Linked DNA regions of Homo sapiens: regions 2, 3, 4, 5 and 6 are each linked to region 1. The links are contacts of gene promoters, found by promoter capture Hi-C in blood cells and fetal thymus (Javierre and others, 2016). All regions are on one chromosome and are shown on one strand. Each heading gives the region's core, a stretch centred on a gene start or on the middle of the fragment in contact. The rest is flanking DNA. Distances are from core to core; before and after follow the strand shown. Region 1 holds the start of OCIAD2 (OCIA domain containing 2). Region 2 overlaps FRYL (FRY like transcription coactivator). Region 3 overlaps FRYL (FRY like transcription coactivator). Region 4 overlaps FRYL (FRY like transcription coactivator). Region 5 overlaps FRYL (FRY like transcription coactivator). Region 6 overlaps FRYL (FRY like transcription coactivator).

Evidence for each region. Contacts are between HindIII fragments. The CHiCAGO score rates a contact against its expected background, and 5 or more counts as called.
Region 2: a fragment that was not itself captured here is called in contact with the fragment with the promoter of OCIAD2 in region 1 in 10 of 17 cell types (non-activated CD4 T cells, naive CD4 T cells, naive CD8 T cells and 7 more); the score reaches 11.9 in non-activated CD4 T cells.
Region 3: a contact is called between a fragment that was not itself captured here and the fragment with the promoter of OCIAD2 in region 1, in 4 of 17 cell types (total CD8 T cells, naive CD4 T cells, total B cells and 1 more). The highest score is 6.1, in total CD8 T cells.
Region 4: a fragment that was not itself captured here is called in contact with the fragment with the promoter of OCIAD2 in region 1 in 6 of 17 cell types (naive CD4 T cells, total CD8 T cells, total CD4 T cells and 3 more); the score reaches 6.3 in naive CD4 T cells.
Region 5: a fragment that was not itself captured here is called in contact with the fragment with the promoter of OCIAD2 in region 1 in 4 of 17 cell types (total B cells, total CD8 T cells, total CD4 T cells and 1 more); the score reaches 6.0 in total B cells.
Region 6: a fragment that was not itself captured here is called in contact with the fragment with the promoter of OCIAD2 in region 1 in 1 of 17 cell types (activated CD4 T cells); the score reaches 5.4 in activated CD4 T cells.

The regions. Positions count from the first base shown.
Region 1 is chr4:48,905,395-48,908,326 of GRCh38, forward strand. OCIAD2 (OCIA domain containing 2) reads right to left here and starts at 1,380. Exons shown (of 7, transcript NM_001014446.3): 1 at 1,264-1,380. RefSeq lists a silencer at 1,058-1,317 and an enhancer at 1,608-1,687. The HindIII fragment of the contact is 6,070 bases long and covers 1-2,932 here.
Region 2 is chr4:48,578,266-48,581,067 of GRCh38, forward strand. FRYL (FRY like transcription coactivator) reads right to left here. Exons shown (of 64, transcript NM_015030.2): 22 at 2,600-2,686; 23 at 708-976. Among named protein-coding and RNA genes, the nearest start is that of ZAR1, 89 kb to the left of the region's middle. The HindIII fragment of the contact is 9,807 bases long and covers 1-2,802 here.
Region 3 is chr4:48,600,775-48,603,497 of GRCh38, forward strand. It overlaps FRYL (FRY like transcription coactivator), which reads right to left. Exons shown (of 64, transcript NM_015030.2): 12 at 2,516-2,614; 13 at 1,246-1,347. Among named protein-coding and RNA genes, the nearest start is that of ZAR1, 110 kb to the left of the region's middle. The HindIII fragment of the contact is 934 bases long and covers 852-1,785 here.
Region 4 is chr4:48,617,780-48,620,724 of GRCh38, forward strand. FRYL (FRY like transcription coactivator) reads right to left here. Exons shown (of 64, transcript NM_015030.2): 6 at 2,860-2,945; 7 at 1,495-1,591. Among named protein-coding and RNA genes, the nearest start is that of ZAR1, 130 kb to the left of the region's middle. The HindIII fragment of the contact is 893 bases long and covers 826-1,718 here.
Region 5 is chr4:48,560,095-48,562,955 of GRCh38, forward strand. FRYL (FRY like transcription coactivator) reads right to left here. Exons shown (of 64, transcript NM_015030.2): 32 at 2,795-2,861; 33 at 1,374-1,542. Among named protein-coding and RNA genes, the nearest start is that of ZAR1, 71 kb to the left of the region's middle. The HindIII fragment of the contact is 6,143 bases long and covers 1-2,861 here.
Region 6 is chr4:48,504,821-48,507,520 of GRCh38, forward strand. It overlaps FRYL (FRY like transcription coactivator), which reads right to left. Exons shown (of 64, transcript NM_015030.2): 60 at 727-795. Among named protein-coding and RNA genes, the nearest start is that of ZAR1, 16 kb to the left of the region's middle. The HindIII fragment of the contact is 1,594 bases long and covers 504-2,097 here.

The sequences.
Region 1 (2,932 bases), core at 130-2,629:
CCAAGGGAATATCGAAAAGAGAAGAAAGATTAAAAAAAAAAAAGCAGGCCAAGGAAATGACTGAGAAGGAATAGCTGATACAGAGGGGAGGGAATTTCTGAAGGAGGGAGTGAATCATCAACACCATCACATGGCTTAGAAAAGTGGACCCTGGATTTGGCAATGATGGACATAATCCAGGTGGACTTTGAGCCTCCTCCTGCCCCCAGTGGCCACTGCATTCTGCAGCCCTGAACTCTACCTCTACCTCTGCTTTTCTTCTGCAAAATGAACCTCTTATATACAATTCTGTTTCCTACATCAGTTACTAAACTTTGAGGCATTTGAGCCAAGGGGACCCGTACTCGCACCAAGTTTCATCACAGGTGTCTAATGTGATTACAGGGGCAGCACGGTGCCCTGCACGGGAAAGTACTGGGGTCAGAGAGACCAGAGTTCAAATCGTGACTCTTTACCCCTGCGATCCCTTTGGTGCAAATGACTTAATCCGTCTCTGCCTCAGCTTTCTCCACTGTTAATTGGGCATAATGGACACAACAATGGTGAGGGGCTCTTGCAGGAATGAAGACTAGGATGAGGATGAGGATGAGGGATACGTCCATAAAGCCCCTGCACACCTTCCATTTCCTGAGCACTCCCAGGAAGTCTTTGCTGACCACGCCAAATTAGATTATCTTTGCTTAGCCATTAGGCCGCTGCCCTATATTGGGAGGCAAATATACCTCTCAGCTTCGGTGGCCAGGTCCCCTGGCACCCACTTAGTCCTCAGTCTGCACCTAAAAGCAAGCCTTCCGAGGGTCTTGCCTTGCAGGTGTAGCTCCCACCCCCCACGCTGGGGTGGTCCGGGGACCCTCTGTTTCCTCAGTGGTGGGGAAGGGACCCGTGGGTTCGTGGGTGCTGACCGACGAATGTGCGGAGGAGGGCGCGCCCCAGCATGGGGGGCGGGGGTGCTTCTTAGGATGGCTTGGAGGGGGGCGCCTGCAGGGCTGGACGGCGGACGGGGGACACTGCACTTTCTGATGCGGTCGGGGAAGCCGGGAGTCAGCCTACTGGAGTCCGCTGCCATCCCTGGCCAGAAGCAGCCAGCGCCACCCCAAGCTCCCCAGCCCCTCGCCCGTGCCGGGGCCGCCGGGGTCCGAGTTAGGGGAGAGTGGGGGGCGGCCACCGCTGCACCGCGCGGCCTTCGAAGGACTGCCCTGCGGCGCCGCGTTCCCCCGAGGCCACCCCCTCCCGCCGTCAACACTCCCCGGGGCGGGGGCTCACCTGTGTGGTCTGGGTCGCCTCCGAGGCCGAGTCCCTCGTTGCCAAGCCCAGCAGGCCTCGCTCCCCCGTGACTGCACCGCCGGCCCGCTCCAGCTTCCCGAGTACCCCACCTGTCTCCCCGGCTTCCTTCCGGCCCTTTGTGTTTTCTTCTCTTGCTCCGCCCCCTCGCCTGCCCGCTAAGCACTTAAGCTGGTGAAGTCACCCTACTGCCACCTGGCAGTCACTTTCGCTGTTGGTGGCAACCCAGGCTGGAACCCAGCTCTTGCCGGAACCCCTGCCCCATCCTTGAGGCTTGTCCCGACACCGAGTAGGTTCTAGTTCCTTTGTGCCTTCCAAATGACTCCCTTCCTCCAGCAATCACAGCCGCAACAGCCATGTATTGCGCCCCCGCCCTAGGCCAGGCGTGGGCATCACCTTTGCACTCCTTTCTGCAGCCGTGTGTGGTGCCCACTGTGACCTGCACTTCACAGACGGGTCATCTGAGTTGTGCAGGCCACTAAGGGAGCCTGGAGTCAACCCCAGGCCTGCTTGGCTCCCAGGCCTTCTCTTTCCATTGCTCTTTGTCGGTCCCCTGCTGCCTCCTGTCCCTCCCCAACTCTGACTTGTGGAGGGAAGCCTTTGACATGTGGGGGTACCTTTAATACCGATATCACTTGTTACCGGAGAGGGGTCCCGATCCAGACCCCAAGCGAGGGTTCTTGGACTTCTCGCAAGAAAGAATTCGGGGTGAGTCCGTAGAGTGAGAGCAAGTTTATTAAGGAAGTATAGAAAACAGGCCGGGTGCGGTGGCTCACGCCCATAATCCCAACACTTTGGGAGGCAAAGGCAGGCAGATCACTTGAGCTCAGGAGTTCAGACCAGCCTGGCCAACATGGTGAAACACTCTCTCTACTAAAAATACGAAAAGTTAGCCAGGCATGGTGCTCTATGCCTGTAATCCCAGCTACTCGGGAGGCTGAGGCAGGAGAATCGCTTGAACTCCGGAGGCAGAGGTTGCAGTGAGCCGAGATTGCGCCACTGCACTCCAGCTTGGGCGACAGAGCCAGACTCTGTCTCAAAAAAAAAAAAAACAAAAAAAAAACAAAAAACAAGAAGAACAACAACAAAAAAGAATGGCTACTCCACTGGCAGAGCAGCTGTGTGGGCTGCTTAGCTAATTATACTGGTAGTTATTTCTTGATTCTATGCTAAACAAGGGGTGGATTATTCATGAATTTTCCAGGAAAAGGGTGGGCAATTCCCGGAACTGAGGGTTCCTTCACTTTTTAGACCATATAGGGTAACTTTCTGACGTTGCCATGGCACTTGTAAACTGTCATGGCCCTGGTGGGAGGGTCTTTTATCAGGCTAATGCATTAAAATTAGCATTTAATGAGTAATGAGGACGACCAGAGGTCACTTTCATGACCATCTTGATTTTGGTGGGTCTTGGCTGGCTTCTTTACTGAGTCCTGTTTCATCAGCAAAGTCTTTGTGACCTGTACCTTGTGCCAACCTTCTATCTCATCCTGTGACTAAGAATGCTGAACCACCTGGGAAGGCAGCCCAGTAGGTTTCAGCCTTATTTTACTCAGTCCCTATTCAAGATGGAGTGGCTCTTGTTCAAACACCTCTGGACACAGTTACCCCAGCCATGGCTGACAAAGTTTTCTGGGCTGAGCTGCCAGGA
Region 2 (2,802 bases), core at 303-2,802, 330 kb before region 1:
AGGCCTCCAGTGATAGGTCAATCCAGATGCTGGGTTTACATGGGCAAGTTATATGCTGAGAGGACTCATTCCATTCAATGTGATCAGTGGTGTACTCTGTAAGGAGAAATCAGGAACCCAAACCCAGATTCAAAAATTCTCCTCTGTATTTAAGAGCAAAAAAACAAAACAAAACAAAAACTAACTGAAATTTATAATGACCTTGGTCAACTCTCCATTTCATCATCAGTTATTCCAAATCTTTACCAACATCCTCAAATCTCCTACTCAGTGTGTTATTACCACTCCCCACCAGAAGGTGGCCTTCCTTACACTGTCATCGGGAAAAGTAAGGCCACTGAGCTGAGTTTCGCTCTGCTTCTCACCCTTTATCTACAAACTTCTGTGTCTACATCCATACTCATCCTTAGATTCTTTCCCAATTTTTTCCCTTAACACAGATTCGATGGACACAACTATGTACCAAGTACAGTGTTATTAAGTAAATTAATAATTAAAATTTGGTGAGACTGTATTACATGAAAAGGATGAAGAAGTTATGAGACTATGTCCTTGACAACATTCTTCTCCCTCCTTAAGACATCAATGCAGTATCACATATTATTTATGGGCCTTCCAATCTGTAATACTTTTGAATTTTTCAAATAAATACATATGAAAGCTGACAGTCTATACATTTTTAAATTTACACTAGGAAAATAACTTACTTTATATCGACCTGAGGGGACAACAACTGAAGTCTTGTGTATGCAAACATCCAAGCATAGCTCACAGCTGTAGAGCAGTGTTTAGGAAGATTTTCTTGCTTTAAAAAACTGGAGAGACTTATAATCCATGGGTCTTGGCCTTGGGTCACATGTGCAAATATCCATATATGTGATGGACTAATCACATCAAACTGGTGGCTAATAGGAGAAGAGTTCCATTCTGCTAAAGTTTGTAAATCTATCGAGCTAGGGCAATAGAGCAAAGTAGTCTATATGGAGAGGAAAAAATTGATTATTACACATTTCAATAACTTTGAAATTTTACCATATAAATTGCTTTAAACTGAAAGTGGTGTATTAGTAGTTTCTAAAACAAGATAATATAAAGTCCATGGTAGGTTGAAGGGAGTAGAGAATTCCTGAAACTGCATGTAAAGTTTCTGTATGTGCATACATGTCTTTTTTTTGGAGAGGGATTCCACTGTTTTCATTATTCTCAAGAGGACTATAAACCAAAGAAGTTCAGGACCACTATTTAAGTAATTCTTAAATAAATATCCAAATTTCATCGTATACCAAAAGCTGCCAGAGAACTAAAGAGTGAACCATTAACTTTCATGTTGACCTGTATCTATGTATGTGTGGAACAGACTCAAAAATGAGCTCTTCTCCAGAGGTATATATTCTTAAATACTTGTTCAATATTTGAACTCTTATACTGAAGAGATAAACATTTATGTTCAAAGAAAAGTATATTAAGCACTGCTTTAGGCACAAGAAACAAGTCATCCATTACTCTCTTTTTGGAATAATTCATAATTTATGGTTAATATCTAAAACAAAATGTTTTGAATTGTATAGATCCTTTCATAAAATAACTAGAAGAGAGGCTTTTAAAGGTTCTTACCACAAATAAATGATAAACACATGAGATGATGGATACACTAACTACCCTGATTGGGTCATTATACAATATAGACATGTATGGAAACATCAAATTGCACCGCATAAATATGTACAATTGTATCTATTTAAAAATAAATAAAAATTAAAAATTAGTTTTTTAAAAAGTTTAGCATCATGGTAGCATCATGGCGGGGGGGAATTGTACAGATTTCTAATAATCTCTTAGGCTTATAAAACCTTATTACCTCCCTTGGCTACATATAACTCATGAATTATAAGAATCAGGTGTTATGCCGCAAGCTCTTAATGTTATGCATTAACCTCTTGACCATGTATTCTAAAATAGGAGGAAATATTTTTAAATAGTAAGGTTTTATAGCTATTCTTACATCAACTTTGGAATCTTAATATATGACCTTTTACCCAACCAAGACCAAGCAAGAAAGTTTGCATAAACTTTGTTAGTAATATGTTTGTGGACAAAGTGTTTCTCTCCATTTTAATGAGTCAAATTACATATGACATTGGTATAAAACACTATGTACTTAATCCACTATACTTAAACTTATGTGATACACAAAAAACAGTTGCCAAAAAAGCAGGGTGTAAGTTTTTGCTTTGAGTATCACCATTTTTTTCCCGTAGCATTTTCACAAGTATTTCTATCTCACGAATATTATATGCCATAATAAAGAGCAAACGGTAGCATAAAGATTCCATTTAACAGAAACTTCTTAGATTGGAAGGATGAGAATTTTACAAACATAAAATAATTTTTATTTCTATGTAGAAGAGTACTTAACCAAGTATAAATGAATGTCACTTTTTAAGTACTACTCTTAAGCATTTTCTACTTTTCAAAAATACTTTCTAACTCATTACATTTGTTAAGGAAGTTATTTTATGTATGCACATGTACATGTATACATATGTGTCTGTCATAAGTCTCAAAACAAGATTGGGTAGAATGAAGTCACTATAGTTACCTGATCAGCCCCAGTGAGATGTATGAAGCTCTCAAGAATGGATGGGCTTAGCCTGTCCATCACATCTATGGCTAATTCATCATCACCCTGTAAAAAAGACATCATATGTCTAAAAAAATTAGGAATGTTTAAGCAAAGTAGCCAAACCCAAGTAAACACTAAAAATTCACTTCAGCACTATTTTTTTTTTTTTTTTTTTGAGA
Region 3 (2,723 bases), core at 69-2,568, 300 kb before region 1:
AATTACCAAAAATAAGAACAGAAATAAGTATAATGTAATTAATTAAATAAAATTTATTTCCTGGTTGCATGACATAAAGAGTTCAATCAGTTTGATTTGGTCCTGGGAATTTTCATAAATAGTCAAATAAGGCATATAAATTCTCATCCAAACATGAGTAATATCAACGTTTATCTAGAAGGAAAATAGACAAAAACATTTCTCAAAGTAGTATATATTCCGTATACCTAAGAAACTGAGGCAGTTTTGAAAATTATACATAAAATCATGAAAAAGACGTACAGGATAACATCCAGTGGATCATTCCTGAAATATGAAAGAAGATCCAGTCCTATTCCTACAATAGCACAACGAGCTGCATACCCAGAGACAAGTCACTTTCTCTATCTGCCTCGGTTCCATTATCTTCAAAGTATAAGGTTTTCAGTCTCAAGTCTAACTTAGAGGAATACCAGGAAATGGAATGTCATGTCTGCAATATTTCTATAACTTGCAAGCAAATATTCAAATAGGCTCATCTAAGTATATATCAAAAGAATATTCAAATCAAGCATTCGCATGACATGCAGCTGAAGAATATTCCCACACTGTCAGAATTGTGTTCCTACCCAAAGAAGAAAAGAGGATCCTGCTAGCAGAGCATCCTGGGAAGAAAATGATCCTTCTATCTCTCACAGTTTTGTTTTCAGGACTAAGAGAGGCTGAATATGGATGTGCCAAATAGTGTTAATGACAAGTACCCTTTCATTCAAGTCAGAATCATTTCAGGAGCTTTTACATCTGTGCAGATCCAGTACCAACTTTTAGATATGGCCGGGCATACTTAAATGTGATTTTAGTGATATTATCAAAGCTTTTTCTCATATTGTTCAGACTTAAACCAACATTACTGATTTTCTCAAAAGACAAAATAAGTATCTAGAAGGTTTTGTGAGATTAATACTCTATAATTCTAAAAGAATTAACAAATATTCCTAGATTTAAGATAATATAAATATCACTAAAAATGTACAATAATCTTGCATTCATTAGGACAAACTAAATTTTCAATCAAAAGTTTACTCATATCTATACATGATTCCCTATAGAAGAAATACAGTAGGTATAAGAAAAGGAATGTGGCAAAGTGTTGCTATTCAAGTATACCAATAGTAACAAAAGTTTCATTATGCACTGTTCAATTTATATGCATAAACAAAATATACCAGTCAGTATTTACATATCAGAAGTGTGATTACATCTTACCTTTAAATGTGACAAACAGTTCTGTAGGAAAATATGCCAGTTATTTAAAAAAAATTGTTTCTGACTGACACATAAAAGGCAGGTAATTAGTGGATATAAAGCCTATAGGAGACGGGGAAAAGACAGAATTAACATTTTTCATCGAAAAGCACTGGACTTTTAAATTTTATATTTCATTTATTCTCATAAGCAAGGAAACAAATCTTTTAAGCAGTTTTCCAATTCGTAATAAGAAATATAATCTCATAGAATAATCTAACACAGAAAGATAAAGAGTAAATTTTCTACGAGGAAAATTCCTTGACTGATCATACCTCTCTGAGTTAGAATATGCTATTAGTTCTCCCTCAACCCATTAGCCTCTCATCCATTTTGTGGTTATGACTAGTCCCTGGGATCAGATGACAGATGGCATTAAAATGTTAGCTTTCTGTTTGTCAAATGTGTAACTTCACGATGGCTACATTAGGTACTCTAAGCCTCACTTTCCAAACACATAAAGTAGAGGACAATAATCACAAATATCTTATAGGGTTGTGAAGCTTAAAGTAAGAAAAAAAAAAGTACAAAGTACTTAGTTCAATGCCTGGCACAATCCATGTTTAGAATTACTGTATCTCTAGTTTAGAAGGTCAAATATTTCACCAATTCTCCAAACTTTCTCCAAGCTACGTAAAAGTTATGTGAAATAGACAGGTAGAAAAAAATGCCTTCAATCTCTGACTAGAAAAGACGTAATTAGACAGAAAACAGCTGCTAAAATCACTTTATGACAGTGATCCCCTGAGGTTACAACATATTTTTACTGTACCTTCTCGTGTTTAGATACACAAATATTATTCTGTTACAACTGCCCACAGTACAGTAACATGCTGTACAGGTTTGTAGTCTGGGAGCAATAAGCTATACCATATAGCCTAGGTGTGTAGTAGGCTATACTATTTAGGTTTGTGTAAGTACATTCAATGATGTTTGCACAATGAAATAGCCTAACGACACATTTCTTAGAACATATTTCCATCATTAAGCAATGCATGACTACCTAGAAGGAAGTCTGAACAACTCAACAAATGCAGAGCTAGTAAAATTAAGAACAGAACATTTAAATAGAGCCACGCAAAACATACGTATGTAAAACTTGCCCTTGTATTGCACTTCAGGGATTTTACAATTTCAGATTTTACCATTCTCTTAAATTTCCACTGAATTCATAAATCAATTACTAAAAATCCCAATTAAATATGAAAAGGTTTGAAATGTTTCTTAATACCAATGAATGCTTCTTTCTCGAGCTCAGTTCAAAAGTAGTCTGATAAAGCATCTCCACAAAATTTTTCAAACAGGGAACATTCACTTCATTTTTAACAGCCTAGTAAAAAGATAATGCAAACAAAGAAAATGATACAGATGTTAGATTAAACTATACAAAGAATACAAGAACTTTCTGTAAGGTTTGAAATTGGTTAATAATTCACTGA
Region 4 (2,945 bases), core at 22-2,521, 290 kb before region 1:
GGAGCGAGACTGACATCTAAGAAAAGGATGCCATGGGAAATGAACGAAGGAGGAAGGCACAATGGGGCCAGGTCACTGGGGTTCCTGAATGCTAATGTAGGGAGTCTGCCATTTCTCTGGCTGGAGGAAGAAACCCTATACTGTTTAAGCAAAAAAGTACAAATACTGGTTACCAATCCACTTAAATGAAATACATTTAGCACACAAGATACACCAGGGATAAATCACAATGAGCAGTAGTCAGAGTCCATTGCTGGGCTGTGGCCATATCCAGTCCTTAGCTCTTCCTATCCTAGTGACTGCTGCCTTAAGGTCTTAGTATCTCAGTTAAACCAAGAGATCACAGAAGTCAAATTTGGCTTGTTAGCACAACTCCCAGAGGAGATTTCTTTCCTACCTCTACCAAAAAACGTTTATGAAATGCATATATTAAAGTGATTTAACCTTTAATTAACTCTTCTGTTTTACATATTTAAAATTATGTTTATTTGCAGATTTCAGAGTACCAAAGAACTGTCTTTTCATATTCCTTGTAAAAATAAAAGCTAAATAAAACTGATTATATAATTCAAGTACTTTTATACTATGAGAAAAACAGACTGTCAATTAATTTTATATCTTGTATTTGCTGTTTGTCACATATTCCTTTCTATGTAACAAAAACAAAACTCCCTGTCCAAATGTGTCATATCCAAAATATGACTCTGACCTTTAGGCTTCCTAACTTGTTTCAAAAGAATACAATGTTCGTGCCTGGAAATACATGGATCATCCTTGAATGATATAACTTTAAAGACCATGATCTTTAAAAAAAAAAAAAAAAAAAGCTTTCAAATTCAGCACAGGCATTTATACTGATCTGGAGTAATAAAAATATTAAGACTATACCTGACACTATATTATATATTCATATCTTTACTGTGTATCTATCCCATTCAAGTGCAAGCTCATGAGTTTATTGCCTAAAACAGTGCCAGCACACAGTAGGCATTCTAATACTCATTGAATGAATAAACATTCCTAACTTATTATCTGAAGTATTCTCACTTGACTGAAAAACATTTGCACATGACAATTCAGTACCCTTATCAAATCACCCCATGCCTCTACTAAAAGTGCACAATTATTACATGTTGGAATGCAGGCTTGGGGGCTTAGAGGAGAAATAAAGTGGAATAAGGGACTGAAGTAGCTGAATGGCAGGCAAACTACATTTACAGCTAAAGGTCAATATTAACACAATTTCCATTCAGCTCCATTTTGCTAACAAGATTTTATATCTTGGATAAGCATACAAAGGTAAAAAATAGAGGAGATAACAGATAGGTACAGGGCAGGAAAGCCCCAGGCAACTGAAAGAAGTATAATGAAATTACAGGAATTTAATTTATGTGGGCTAAAATTCTAGACACAGCATCTTAAAGTAACTGAAACACGAAGGCACAGTAAGCAAAGAATAAGGAATACAGACTTTGCAGAAATAAAAGAGCTTACCTGCTTTAGAACTTCAACTAAAACTAAACAAAAAATGAAGTCTACTGCTAAGTCCCTCCTTTCAAGAAGATAATCTCTTTCACGTTGCTGTTCATCCCTGAAACAAGAATCCAAAATTAGTACTGCATTAAGATTATGACTTTAAAAATACCTGTTAGTTAGTAGCTCATGTCGCTTACTGTTTTCCTACTATGTAAAATGTGCTACAGCAATTGTTAATATGAAGCTTTTTGTTTTTTATTTTTGTCTTTTTGGTTTGAGACAGGGTCTCGTTCTGTCACCCAGGCTGGAGTGCAATGCTGCAAACATGGCCCACCGCAGCTTCAACCTCCTGGGTTCATGTGATCCTCCCACCCCAAGTAGCTAGACTACAGGCAAGCGCCACCATGCCCAGCTAATTTTATTTTTTCTAGAGAAGGGATCTCCCTATATTGCCCAGACTGGTCTCAAATTCCTGGGTTCAAGTGATCCTCCTGCCTGAGCCTCCTAAAGCAGATTACAAGCATAAGTCACAGTGCCTGGTCTGAAGCTTTTTAATAATCCAACATATGCAAAAACATGTTTTTATGTTCTTTCCCTTTTTATATACGGGGTGTTTATTCAGAGTTCACTATTATATCTGTTAGCATTTAAACTTAACCTAAAAGAATTAGTAAGAAGAAGAAAAGTATTTTAAATTTCATTTAGAAAATGTAGCATTGTTCCATATTTGATTACTAGTATTTTGTTAAGAACTGAAACAAAAGTATTAACTTTTCAACATGAAAATACAGTACAAGGTATCCTTCTCACAAATTTAAGTTGAAAAATCACAAGTGGCATCTACTGAAGTCCAACACTAAACCATGGACAATCACCTGAACACACGTGGCTCTTACATGCATGACAAGATCATCCTGGGAAATTTGAAGGAGAAGAAAACAAGTTCTAGGAATTGAGCTCCAAGAACAGTATCATAGTACTATTATAACACAGGGTTTTGGCAGTCTTCCTGTATTACAATAATTGCCTCCCTTCATAAACCATATGAACAGGAACTTCTTTGAATATTTTCTTAACTTTATGACTATTAAAAGCTCCTCACTGAACTGCTGAAATGGCACTCCTAAATAGGTTTTTGTATTACTAATTTTTGCATGATACCCAGTATGAGTACTGTAGGGCTACATCTAGTTTAACTGGTACCTTCTCTTGATTTACAGTTTATGTGTGAACTATCCTTCTCCCTTACTACCATCTTTGTAACAAAAGTAATCAACGCAGTTTGCTTAGGAATCAAACAATAACAACCTTCAGTTGATAATATCACCCCTTCATTGGAAGTGTGTTAATTCCAGGTGAAACAGTGTAAAATAAAGCACTTACCCCTTAGACTTTGTGCTAGACCGAGGCCTATATTCATAAGATTCATCTTCCGTTCCATTTTGGCGTCTGTACCAGTCAAACAAGGT
Region 5 (2,861 bases), core at 13-2,512, 350 kb before region 1:
AGCAGGTGTGAAGGAGGGAAAGGATGTGAGGAGCAAGAATGGGAAGGGCCTCAGAGCTGACAACATTTAGAGACCATTGCATTGAATCTGGAGAAAGAAAGGATCAGGGCCCTCAAATTTTAAAGTGGCAAAGTTTATGCTGATACCTGTATCTGTGCAGTAAAATTCTGAATGAATATTGTGTTTGTCTTGCCTTAGAAACAGTGAAAGTGAAAATGTAGGTTAGCTATGGAATTTGTCAGGTTGAGAGGCTGTTTTGGTTTAGAATGAACTATCTTAAGCAAAGGAGTTAAAATTAGCTGATGCTAAGGACAAGAGTGTCTGAAGAGAGAACTGAAGGAAGAATGACAAGGTGGTGGGGGTGTGGGCATGGTGGACACCTGTACCAGCACACATCCTAGGCGATGACATGACATTCTAAACAGTTACATGATCTCTTGAGACCCAGCTGGACTCCTCTACTTTCTGTGCAAAAGCCTCTAGCAGCAGCTCAGCAGCCACAAAATCTGTGTTCACGGCGGCCGCTATTTTGTGTTGATGATCACTCATATTCATCTTGGAAGGGCTGTCACGGATGCGGGGGTTGGGAAAAAGGAAGAGGCATTGCTACCAACTACCAGGGCAAACCAAACAGGTCAACTGCTTTCAAGAACTAAATGTTATGAGAATTTAAGTTGTTGTTATTGCTTTTTTCTCCCACTCAGGTCAATTAGGGATGGGAAATAAACTATTTCTATTGCTAAAATAGGTGCTGTGCAAAGATCCCAAGCCAGCTAAGTCCACTATCTCTTGAGCCCAAATGAAATAAAGGACCCACAGCAGAACTCTGCAATCTCCCAGATCCCAGTGTTGGAGCATGGCCAGTACTTACACTGGAACAAGATCTTGATGTAGGCGACAAGCAACATGTGGGAGACTAGAAAGAGTTTTGCTCGAGGCACTGTACCACCTGCTCCTATGGTTAGGGGTTTCGCTCACGGAAAACTGCCTATAACTTTATCCCTGCCTATTTTTATTATTAAACATATGCCAATACACAAAATACAATGTATTCAAGAAGTCCTATGTCTACTAAGAAATACTTTTAAGTCACATGTGAAAAGTCGTCCCTCTTGTATTTTTTTCTTTTTGATGGAGTAGGGAGCGAAGGGAAGGTCAGGTATAAAACCCTATAAGGACGCCGTTGATAGAAAAACCTAAATATTGTGACTGATCAGAATTAAGAGTTCTTATTGAAGAAAAAAATATTTCCTATGTAAAGACATGTCTGGTTTTGATTTAACCTGTAATTTAATAAATTTATAATTTTCTAAAAATTGTTTCTGAAGAAATGATTGACAAATAGAAACTACTAACCAGTTCATTGATCATACCTGAGAATATGGCGAGAGTTAGCTCAGGATACGCCCTTGCTAGTTCCTCGGACAACTGATAATATGAAACAGAATAGAGATGTGGTAGAGGAGACAGCTGGCTGAGTACTCCATCTGTTCTCTGAACCTCCAATTTGTGAGCATAGCGAAACATCTTCGGTTCCAGAATCTATAGGAATGTGATTCCATCAACTTAGGTTAAGATTTTATGGGTTCTCTAAAGTTTAACTATAATTTTATAATTTTTAAAAAAACTCTTCTCCCCAGCTGAGTGGAGTGGCTTATGCCTGTAATCTCAATACTTTGGAAGGCAGAGGTGGGAGGATCACTTGAGGCCAGGAGTTCCAGACTAGCCTGGCCAACATAGCAGGACCTCATCTCTACAAAAAAATTAAAAAATTAGCCAGATGTGGTGGTGTGTGCCTGTGGTCCCAGCTACTCAGGAGGCTGAGGGTGGAGGGTCACTTGAGCTCAGGAGGTAGAGGCAGCAGTGAGCCATGACTGTGCCACTGTACTCTAGCCTGGGTGACAGAGTGAGACCCTATCTCAAAAACAAAATGAAACAAAACAAACAAAAACTCTTTCTCACTAAAAGAATTTACATTCCTCGTATTTAATGCCAATGATCCAGGTTAGTAACACAGTCTGAAAATAACTCCAGCAACTTAATATACGATTACTTGAAAAAGATTTACCACTTTTCTCGCACAAAAATATGGTAGTACAATATATGCATAAGTGAAAAAAAAAAACCCTTCAAGGAGGACCTTTCGACATTACACTATTTAAAGAGCTGTACTGCTGAACTTTCCTCTTAATTAACAAAGGCATTAGGGTATAATTCCTAAGATGGATCTACTGGCATCAGAACCACTTCAGAGCCTTTGGAAAAAGCACCTACTTGAATCCTATTCTTAGCCCTTGGTTAAGATGGAAGAATCTTGCCCTATTATGAATTAGTTAAGTATTGCATACTAACAATATATCCGTGTTTGGTAAGTTAACTTTCTAAGTTATTTCTCCTCAACCTAATAAAGAAAATTTACATGAGAATATGATAAAAAGAGCTAATTATTTTTCACATGGCTCTCCAAAAAAATTTGGACACACATTGTTCTCATCTGCTGAACAGAAATACTTACATGGACACATATTTATAAGTACCTTCATACACATACACACACATTATCATAAATAATCCTTCTACAATACACTTAGGAATAGTCTGCATTACTTATAAATTTAAATATCTATATTATCTTTGTCTTATACTTCTAATAATAATTAGGCCTTGATACCATAACTTCTTTACTATAAATAAAGCTAAATACTATTATCAGTATGCTTTAATAGCAAGACTAAATTATTGGGCTTCATTAAATCCTGAGTAAAAAAATATTTAAATTCACATGTTTACAAACCTGTAAAAGTTGCATAGCAACTTCATAGATACTTCTAGAAGAATCAGCTGCTTTAAACAGTATCAGA
Region 6 (2,700 bases), core at 51-2,550, 400 kb before region 1:
AACTTCAATTTTTTACTATAATAAATAGTATAACCTAATAATAGTATAACCTTTACAGACACTAGAAATCTGTAATAATATAACCAAAGGTAGAATATAAAAGACTGGAATTCTGATGTCAAATGGAAATAAATTTCAGTTGATGAATGTATTTTCCCCTGTGAAGCTACACTTCCATTGGAATAATTTGTAGGCCCTAACTTATCCTCACTTACTACAATGTATGTGTTTATGTATGTGCACCTTTCTAAGAAAATATAATGCTGTTGTTTTCACTGAGCCTTATATTAAAGAAAAACATTATAATTTATCCAATTCTAATTTTACCTTTAACATGGATATATTATATCACATTATTCTTAGGTTTGCTTTCTTGACCAATTTATCTAACAGAATAGCAGAATACTAACATGGGACAAATTTTTCTTTAAGAGGCACATGCAACTTAAAAGCCGACCTGGACTGTCCAGATATCCATCAAGCTTATCTATTGGATGTTATTAAGCTTCAGTCACAAGCTGGTCGTTCATTTTTATTAAAGTGAATTTTTCATTATGAAACCAGTATTTCATTGAGCTTTTACAAAGATTGTTTTGATAACCAAAATGAAAAGTTTTACAAATATTCTTTATTTTTAGAAATAATCAAATAAGGATATTTGAACACATGCATTGTTTTACCTGATACAGAAAATGTATGTTGCAAAAACAGGAACAAGAAACTTACTTGTGCATCTGTGTTTATCCTATACATGTCTTCTTTGGCACCAAATGTCCTCTTACAATCATCTAGCCACTAAAAATAAGTAACAGTAACGTTTAATATGCACAGTAAAATGGGTAGTGTAACAGCCTGTCCATATACAACACCAAACTTAAAGTTAACTTGAAGTTCTAGGATTGGTTGTAGACCTAGACTTTTATCTCCATTCAAGCCAAATCAATCATTTATATGGAACTAACAAAAGCAGGGATAGCATTAATGTAACAAGAGGCACACACTTGTGACAGCTATACTAACAAAACCCATTCCATTCTAGGGACCTGTGATGTTCCATTTCAGTAAAGGATATTCTTCATTTTGCAGGTTTTATGAAAATCTTTACAACCTATGCCTGACCTTTGTGTAACGTAAGACGGGGAAAGGAAAGATGTGCTTCCCCTCTGATCAATTTAATAAAGACAACTTAGAATTAAGTAGGTCTGTTTGCTTATGAGAAGTGTAATTCTCAGAAGACTAGTGTCAGTTTTAAATTTGTGAACCGGCAATCAAGATCCATTTTAAGTCTTGTTTTGTTTTTCTTTTCTTTCTTTTTGGACAGTAATGAATGACAAACAAACATGTTATTTATTTCCAAACAATACTGGATGTAGAAGCCAAATGTGGTTTTTCCTTCTCTGGGGGTATTCCTAATGTTGATATAAAAGTACAGGCTGGGTGTGGTGGCTCCTGCCTGTAATCCCAGAGCTTTGGGAGGCTGAGCGGGGAGGACTGCTAGAGGGCAGGAGTTCAAGACCATCCTGGGCAACATAGGGAGACCCTGTCTCTAAAAACATAAAATAAAAAAAAAGGAATACTTCAAAAATAAAGTACATTTTCTTCAGCAAAATATAAATAAAACAATAGCACCGTGGTATAGTAGAAAAGAAAGAACGCTGGACTCACAGAATTTCCAAGCTGAAGTAAAAGCTAAGTGCATTCCAGGTAAGCTCCTAGCTTTGGACAGTTTGATATTATCAGTTGTTTTGACTTCTAAGTTCTTTTTTTTAAATTATACTATTAAACAATACAACTAATATATATATATATATATATATATATATATATATATATATATATATATATATATGAAATCATTAGGACTTTGAGAAACAGACTAGCTGCATTAAGCAGCTACTCTGAAAGTATTTTAGTATTCGACATTTAACATTCTCTATTGTAGCTTATGTTGTACCCACAAAGAAAGAATTGAAATTTGACATTTCAGTTATTTCAAAAATGATCTCTTTGACCTTATTTTCCTTTTATTCCAGTCTCTCAGATTTCACCGGCCCTTAGGCTATTTGCTTGACAGCATCTCTGAAGAAAAACATGTTAAGCTTTTCTAGTGAGATACAGCTGATGGCAGCCATTGTCAAAAGCTATCAGTGGATTTCTTTGTATCAGCAAAATGCAGTTGACATCTAACATGGAACCTGTGCATTAATCTTTATTCATACAAAATGTTAAAATATTTATACACTTAATTATGCCTTATCTTGTCCAGTTTGTCCAAGTATACTAATAAATTTGAAAATAATTTCAGTTGATTATTTATTTAATGGCTTATTTTTATACTGTGTACCTAATGATACAGCCTTTTGGGGGGCACTATTCAAAATATTGCTGATTTTTATTCTGTTAAAAGACAAACCCCAACCATATAGTCCTGTGGCTGCACACTGGCCTGAGAGATACAGGTCCACACCTTTCCAGCCAGAGCATACAAGACATGGTAGTTTGTGCTCAGAACACCCTCCAGTTCACATCTAATCAATCAGTCTTCCTGTCACGGCATTTTCTTTATTCAAGGTTCAAATGAAGGTTAAAATTTTTAACTGTCGAGGTTCTACTTCTGGGTGTGATGGAGTAGCCTGTATAAAAGAAAGAAAGACCAATCCTGCAAGGACAATGATGGAAGCTGAATCCTATCGGCCAAAA